Regions from separate parts of the Homo sapiens genome. Here region 2 is linked to region 1. The links are contacts of gene promoters, found by promoter capture Hi-C in blood cells and fetal thymus (Javierre and others, 2016). All regions are on one chromosome and are shown on one strand. The core of a region is centred on a gene start or on the middle of the fragment in contact, and the rest is flanking DNA. Distances in the headings are between cores, read along the strand shown.

Region 1 (4,293 bases), core at 965-3,464:
ACTCTGGATGTGTTGGTGAGGTTTGTGTTGGAGTTTGTGGAGACTTGTGAATACTATATCCCTCCCCATCCAGGGGTTCCAACACTGAGCATCTTTCTCTCACTGACATCTTTCAGCAAATAAATTCTTCCCATATATTGTCCCTTTTGCACTTCCCCTTTCAACCTTGAGATATCCTTTTGAGGATCCTTAGTTCCAACTTTTCAGTAGTTTGTGCCCTGAATCACAGACATCCTTTCTTCCCCAGTAATTATAACCTTTTCCATGCAATAAGAGACCTATTGTCTTCTTTACCCCCAAACGCCAACTGTTCTCAGATTCTCTATGAGTGCAGTTGGGGTGGAGCCAGGACACTCACCGCCAGGATGCTCTGCGGCTCGGTGATGTCTTCATTCTGGGAAGAAGAGAAGACAGCAGGAAGGCGGTGCGGGGAGAGGGGTGTGACTGGGAGGACAGTAGATCCCCCGGGCGGGGGCAGGATCATGACCCTGAAAACGTGCCTGGGGAAGGTCAGAAAGTCATCCAAGGTCCTCCCAGAGGATTCCCAGAGCCCCACACTCACCCTTGACCAGACGCGCATCCACAGCTCCCGGGACGCTTTCTCCAGCATCTCTGGATGCTCCAAGTTCACGGCGGTGAGGAAACGCATGGCAGACAAACTTCCTGTGGGGCAGAGGCACCCAGAGGCAGGGCTCCTCTTGCTGCTTTCCTGGTGGAGGACTAGCTCTTCCTTGCTTCTGACATCCCCCAGAGCTCCTCCGCCCTCAGCCTCTCACCCAAGGTTCCCATGACCTATTTGCCTGCTCTTCTTCCCTTTCATGCCCGGCAACCTTCAGCTCGCTCAAGGCTGATCCTGAGGTTTCCCAAGGCAGGCTTCACTTGCTTTAGTCTCCCGCAGCCCCTCCATCCTATCAATCCCTCAATCTCCGACTTCTGTGTTTTTCACTGGATACCCTGTCTACATCCCACTCTCTTCACCTTTTTCAAGCATCACAGACAAGAAATCCTTGGGGAAGTGGATGGGAATCTGGAGATGGTGTCTCAGGAGCTTTAAGTCATTTGCCATGTATAGTCCTTTGCGGGGAAGCAGACCTGGAGGCTTGTTTCCTGCCAGGAGAAGGTTGGGCACGCTAAGTGAGAAAAGACCTAAGGGTCCCAGGTTTGGGGACCTCGACGTGGGTTTTGGGCAGAGGGCAGCTTCCTTTTTTTTCTCTTGTTGTTTCGCTCTTGTTGCCCAGGCTGGAGTGCAATGGTGCGATCTCAGCTCACCGCAACCTCCGCCTCCTGGGTTCAAGCGATTCTCCCGCCTCAGCCTCCCGAGTAGCTGTGGTATACAGGCATGCACTACCACGCCCGGCTAATTTTGTATTTTTAGTAGAGACGGGGCAGAGGGCAGCTTTCTGGCTGCCAGTGCCAATATAAGGACCCGCTGGGGTCGGCTCTCTTGGGCCACTGAGATCACCCCTGCCCCGACCCTCCCTTCCTACCACTGTCTTTCATGATCCCTGTTATGAGGCTGGGCCGCAACTGCAGGTTGATGTTCCAGATATTCTGATACCGGCACAGGATCTGCGGGCAGAGGTCAAGAACGATTGCCAGTGTGCAAGATGGAAAAGTGAAAGAGCCGAGGGAAAGGGAAGGGAGGCGCTAAGTGCAGAGCAGGGGTTATGCGGACACCCTACATTGTTTGGTTTGAAATTGGCAAAACTCTCCTCACTACTAGAAATCTATTCCAGGATCTTCGCTCCTGTGGCCAGTTTTCCCCAAAACTGCCATCGTTGGGCTAAGAGGTGGCCGTGTTCTGCATTTCTCCCTGAATGTTTGGAGCCGCCCCTCTTTCCACCACCGTGGGAAACTGCAGTCGGGATATAAAGGCTCGGGTTGGAGCCAGCGACTCTATTCCGTTTAAAAGCACAAAGTGACCTTCAGCCCCGGAGCTCTCCCTGCTTGCCTTAACCCCTTGGGCGGCGCCAGGAGTTACACGAGACCTCTGTCCCGGAGCCCTGCGCTCACTCTTCCCTCCGCCCTCACTCCCCAGACACTGCCGAGGCGACCCCTCCCAGCGTCACCTCGAAGCCCAGCCAGGAGTAGGGGGACAGCACGTCATAGAAGAGCTCCACGGTGCGCGGCAGGGGCCCCATGCTGCAGGCTCCGGAAGAGCAGTGGCAGCAGGAGCTCCTTTTCCCGGAACCCGGCAGAGGCTGCCCAGCTTCTGGGCCTGCCTGGGACCGCCCACCGCCTTAGCGCGCAGCCTCAGAGAGAAACTGCCCTGGTAGAGGTCCACCTCCGGCGCAGCGGGGCAGGGCCAGCCTACGGCCCCCAGCCAGGGGCGGGGTGGGTAGGGACCCCTTGGGGAGCGCGCAGGTGTGGACAAGGGGCGCTGCAATCGCCTTTGCAAAAATTTTAACAGTGAGAAAATTACGAAGGTGAAACAGATCTGAACTCACCAACTCCATCGTGCCTTTAACCTCCAAACTGCCCTTGGTCATTCCTGAGCATGGGACGAGCTAATATAGGGAGAAATTTAGTTTATAGTTTAAATGATAATAGCCCTTCCCCAAACTAAACCAGTTTTATAAAACTAATAAAAGTCCACAAGTTTAGGATTATGAGAGGGGCCTGAATTCTGCTAAGATGTAGGCATTAACAATTACCAGACATTGTTCCAGAGGTCACAAGCTCTGCAACTTCCCCAATTATTCCTGTAAATAACCACTTTTGTAGAACCTAAGACTGGCCTTTGAAGATACCTTCTCAGACTTTTCCATTTCTAATGACAGGATGACTCCACCTGGACCAGTGACTCCTCTGTGGCCCGCATCCAAATGCAACTCGGTGCACTGAGGACGGTTTTCCACACCCCTGTGATTGCATCCCCAACCAATTAGCAGCACCCATTCTCTAGCCCCTTGCCCATCAAACTATCATTAAAAAACTCTAGCCGGCGGGCATGGTGGCTCACGCCTGTAATCCCAGCACTTTGGGAGGCTGAGGTGGGTGGATCACTTGAGGTCAGGAGTTCAAGACCACTCTGGCCCACATGGTGAAACCCTGTCTCTACTAAAAATGCAAAAATTAGCCGGGCATGGTGGCATGTGCCTGTAATCCCAGTTACTCGGGGGGCTGAGTCAGGAGAATTGCTTGAATCCGGGAGGCAGAGGTTGCAGTGAGCCGAGATCATGCCACTGCACTCCAGCCTGGGTGACATAGCAAGACTCCCTCTCAAAAGAAAAACAAAAACAAAAACAAAAAAACCCACAAAGTCCCCTAGCCTCTGCCTCCGAATTTTGGGAGGCTAATTTGAGTAATAATAAAACTCTGGTCTCCTGTTTAGCTGGCTCTATGTGTATTAAACTCTTTCTCTATTGCAATTCCCTTGTCTTGATAAATTAGCCCCATCTGGGTAATGGGCAAGATGAACCCATTGGGCTGGTGTCAGGGTGACTGTCCTGCTCTGCAGTGGAGTCTTGTGGGAAGGGGGTAGTTTGAGATGCCTGCAGTGCCTTTCACTTAGCTGTGCCCCTTGGGTGAGCCACTTGACCTCTCTGAACCTATTTCCTCATCCTGCATACACATGGGGAATATCTAATGATAACACCTGCCTTATGACGAGTTGTGAGGAATGAGGTACTCCAATAACTGCTAGCTCTTATTATTGTTGCTTGGCAGTTGCATGAATCTCCTAAACTGGGGCAGAATAAGAAGTTCTCAGAGTACACATTTTCTTGTGTTACCTTTGTCAGAGATTTGCACAATGTCTGGGACACATTTGACCATCGATACATATATTTTGAGTGAGTGAAAAAAAAGAGGGACTGGTAGAAGATGGAGAGGCCTCACTATAGATAATTTTGGTGATAATGGAAACGATTGGCCCTATTCGTTTTCACAAATATGTGAGTCATATTGTCTTATATTGGGATTACATTTACTGCAAAGAAACAGAATTTTAAAATAATTCCATTTAACTTTGTTAAAATTATTTTTAACATTACTAATTTAATAAATTGGAAAACATATAAAGATTCCACTTTTCATTTGTATCAATAAGGAAAACAACTCCAGGCTATCAGAATACAGAGATACGAGGTAAACCCCTACATGGAGAAGAGCATGCAAAATGGAATGAAAAATGATGTTATCATTACCTACTTGCAGAGTAAACTAATTGTTCAACAACCACTGAAACTAAACTTTTTTTTTTTTTGAGATGGAGTCTTGTTCTGTTGCCCAGGCTGGAGTGCAGTAGCACAATTGCAGCTCACTGCAACCTCTGCCTCCTGGGTTCAAGCA
Region 2 (4,019 bases), core at 28-2,527, 640 kb before region 1:
CAGAAGCAGAGGCTGGAGCCATGAGATTGCTGACTTTGAAGATGAAGGAAAGGGCTGCAAGCCAGGGAATGCGGGAGCCTCTGGAAGCTGGAAAAAGCAAGGAAAATAGATTTGTCCCTAGATCCTGCAAAGAGAAACACATCCCTGCCTACACCTGGATGATAGCCCAGTGAGACCTGTGCTGGACTTCCAGGACCTACAGTCCTGGAAGATAGTAGTAAATCTGTGTTGTTTTAAGCCACTAAATGTGTGAAAATTTATCACAGCAGCCTTAGCAATGAATACACTGCCCAACTTGTAAGCAGAGGATGTGGTGGCTTCAAAGTCCAGGCTTTTTCCCTGCTACTCCTTTCTTTCTTTCCTCCCTCATGCCCAATATCTGTCATCTGTTGATTGGTTAGTAACATTCTCAACGCCTTACTGTTTTATTAAACTTATAAAAACAATGTATTGGTTTAAAAAAAAACAATTCAGTGGTTGTGAAGGTAAGAATCAATAGACAATTTCTCCACCGTTAGCCCCGCCTCTTATAGAAGCACATGCAGCATGTCTTCTTCATACACGAATGTAATGCTAAAGCTGATGCAGTGGCTCAGGCCTGTGATCCCAGCACTTTGGGAGGCCGAGGCGGGAGGATCACTTGAGCCCTGGCGTTCGAGACCAGCCTGGGCAACAAAGTAAAACCCTGTCTCTAACAAAAAATCAAAAAGTTAGCTGGGCGTGGTGGCGGCGCACTTGTGGTCCCAGCCTCTGAGGTGGAAGGATCGCTTGAGCCTGGGAGGTTGAAGCTGCAGTGAGCTGTGATGGCACCACTGCACTCCAGCCTGGGTGGCAGAAGCAGACCCTCCCCCTGGAGGGGAGGGGAGGGGAGGGGAGGGGAGGGGAGGGGAGGGGAGGGGGAAAGAGAGATCCTACTCTCCATTTTAATACAACTTGCTTTTTTAATTAAAAACTATAGCTAGAACCGATAGATTTCACTCGTCCTTAAAAATAGTCCTGTATTATTTTATATAAACATCTCTCGCTATTTATCAAGGCCGTCACTTGTTCAGAAGTATTCTCACTTTTGTTTTGTTTTGTTTTGTTCTTAACAATTTGCTCCCTATATTCCTGGGCTGGCGCCTAGGCCTGCATCCGGGATTTGGCGCCACATCTGCGGGCAGGGCCTCTGAGGTCTAGGGGAGGGACGGCGCCGGCCAAGTCCCGCCCCCGTCCGCGTCGACCAATCAGCTCCCTGGAAGGCCCCTCCTCACCACCCCCCACCCCCGCAGTCTCCGCCTAAGACTTTCCAAGTCCTGTAGTTTCGAGCCCGCTGCCCTTTGCCTCCTGGGCGGAGAAGCTGCTTCCTCCTGGGAACAACCGCCTCCCGCTCCTAGCAGGTTGCTACTGCCCCGAACCCGCGCTGCAGGGAACAGCGGGGCAAACAGTGAGTGGGGTTCAGCGTAGACTCTGGACCAGGAGAGGCCCGCGGTGACCGAGGCCTGGGCCCCGGGTTAGTGTCCGGGGCGGGGAGCGGTGGGCGGGGTGCGACGTTTAGCGTCTGGGGAGGGCCGGGCGTGGATTGCGGCCTCTGCGCGCGCCCCCAGGTGATAGAGCCGTTCCACCGAGGATCCCTTCCTTCGTCTCTACCCCGTTGATGATTTTTCTCTGCAGCTCGGTGCCTATTTCATTCTCGCCGCATTGTTATGCCCTCTGCTGGGCAGGAGGCGATGACCCCCCCTATTTTCGTAGGATTTGTTTTTTGCTCCGCAAGGAGCCATTAAGATCTGAGCTAGCAGGAACCCTCGAGGCGATTTGATCTCGCCAGCTGGGGGCTTGCATTCTTCTAGGCTAGCTTGTCTCCGTTAAGCCCAGGTGGAAGTTCTCATCCACCCCAGTGCTCTAGGCGCCCACGGGCGCAGTGTGGGTTTGTGGTGGGGGAAGGGACCTGGGGAGGGGTGGCGGTGAGAGCGGCGCGGGGATTCAGGCTGAATGTTAGTCTGGAATGCATTTGGCCTGAAGCAGCAAGTGCTGGGTGATACAGTTCCCTGGTAAACAGCCGAGAGCTGGCCGCTAGTTTGGCCCAACCTGCAACGGAAGAAGGCCTTAAGTACAGGAGAAAAAGATCTTTGCCAATTGGATAATCATGGAAATTTAGAAGAAGTACAGCTCGAACTAGACGTAAAGGACAGAATGTGTCTGTCTAGCTGACCAGCCAACCATCGGTCCATCACTTTCATCCTCCAAACTAGTGATTTGTTGATGAATTGGTTTCAATACTTTGTTTTAAAATGTTGAATAAAAAGTAAATGAAATATCTCAGAATGGTCTAAAAAATAATGAAACGAATGCCTGACCATCTCCTTGGGTCAAGAAATAGGGCGTCACAGTACCTTAGAAGCCCATGAGTCCCAACTGATGCCCATGGTCCATTCTCCTCCATTCTCTGAGATGTGACATCTTTCGTGATTTTTGTCTTAATTTAATGAATCCCTTGCTTTTCTTTTTAGTTTTACCATATTTGTGTGTGTATTCCTAAAACATATGTATTGGCTTTCTCATTATAATGACATTATATTAATGACATTATCCTGTACGTATTCTTAAGTTTTATAGATTCATCTTTCATGCTTCCTTCCATTTTCGTTTTCGTCATTTAAGGTGTAAATGTACATAATTTATCCATTCTACTGCTGATGGACATTGGATTGTTTCTACTTTTGGAGGTGTATGATTTATCTATAAGCTATGTAACAAATTACCCCAACACCTAGCAGCTTCAAACCAAAGCGAACAAACAAAACAAGTCCTGTTACCTCCTATCTTACAGTTTCTGTGATCAGGAATCCAGGAGGGGCTTAGCTGGGAGTCTCTGACTCAGGGTCTCTCACAAGCTGTATCAACAATCAAGGTATTGACTGGGCCTCAGTCATCTCAAGGCTAGGCGTAGGGTCGAGGACCTCTCCCAGGCTTACTCACATGACTGCTGGCAGGCCGATTGGCCTCACTGACCCTGGCTGTACACATCAGTTCTTTGCCACATGGGCCTCTGTATAAAGAATGGTTGCAACATGGCAGCTTACTCCCCCCAGAGAGAAGGCTCCCACAGAGAAAAAGAGAAAGACAGAAGTCAGATTCTTTCTGTAACCTCAGAAGCGACATCCCATTATTTTTGCCATTTTATATTCATTAGAAGTGAGTCCCTAGGCCCAACTCACACTGAAGGGAAGGGGGTGACACAAGGACATGAACACCTGGAGGCAGGGATTATCGGGGCCACTTTAAAGCCTGCCCATGTCCTCTAATATTCAAGTACACTTGTGTGGGAGCTTCCCTAGAGTATATAGCTGGGAGTAGAATTGCGGAGTTATAAGATTTATGTGTATTCAATTTTATTGGGTCATTTCTAAACTTTCCAAAGTGTTAAACCAGTTTGCACTCCCTCCAGCAGTGGATGAGCATTCTTGTTGCTCTACATGCTTGCCACAGCTTAGTCTTGTAAAATTACATTTTTTGTCAGTCTGGCAGGTATGAAATAGCATTTAACTGTGATTTTAACTAGCATTTTCCATAACTAATGAGATTGACTTTTTATATGTTGATCAGTGCTTTCTCTTTGTGAAATTCTGATTCCTGTCTCTTTCATTTTTGTATTGGATTGTTTGTTTACCTTTTTTATTGACTCATTGGAATGCTTTCTTTATATAATCTGGGTACGAAGCAGTAATTGTTAGCTATATATGCCACAGACATCTTTCCAATTTGCTTTTGAGGTTTTCTTTCTCTCTATGTCTTTATATCTGTTTCTTTCTCTGTTTCTATCAATGAATCTAAGTTTTGAATTTAATTTCAAGTTAGTAGTACTTTCTTTTATAGCTTTTCTTGTTTGATAATTGTTTTCTCAAGATCATAGATTAATTTTAGTGTATCGTTTTCTAAAAGTGTTATAGTTTTGCCTTTGGCAATTAGTCTTAATCCACATGGAAACTGATTTTTATGTTGTTTATTCCATATGGATAATCTGTTGCCCCAGCACCAGT

The links. Contacts are between HindIII fragments. The CHiCAGO score rates a contact against its expected background, and 5 or more counts as called.
Region 2: a contact is called between the fragment with the promoter of TCAF1 here and the fragment with the promoter of GSTK1 in region 1, in 1 of 17 cell types (neutrophils). The highest score is 5.7, in neutrophils.

The regions. Positions count from the first base shown.
Region 1 is chr7:143,261,362-143,265,654 of GRCh38, reverse strand. It overlaps GSTK1 (glutathione S-transferase kappa 1), which reads right to left and starts at 2,214. Exons shown (of 8, transcript NM_015917.3): 1 at 2,070-2,214; 2 at 1,488-1,569; 3 at 979-1,107; 4 at 563-663; 5 at 359-394. The coding sequence starts at 2,141. All of the region lies in intron 2 of TMEM139-AS1 (TMEM139 antisense RNA 1), which reads left to right. It overlaps LOC105375546 (a long non-coding RNA gene), which reads right to left. Exons shown (of 3, transcript XR_007060569.1): 3 at 2,448-2,507. RefSeq lists enhancers at 1,967-2,186, 2,005-2,299 and a silencer at 2,327-2,396. The HindIII fragment of the contact is 19,965 bases long and covers 1-4,293 here.
Region 2 is chr7:143,899,434-143,903,452 of GRCh38, reverse strand. TCAF1 (TRPM8 channel associated factor 1) reads left to right here and starts at 1,277. Exons shown (of 9, transcript NM_014719.3): 1 at 1,277-1,492. It overlaps LOC105375549 (a long non-coding RNA gene), which reads right to left. Exons shown (of 3, transcript XR_007060574.1): 3 at 1,500-4,019. RefSeq lists a silencer at 1,117-1,256 and enhancers at 2,047-2,096, 1,772-2,309. The HindIII fragment of the contact is 7,751 bases long and covers 1-4,019 here.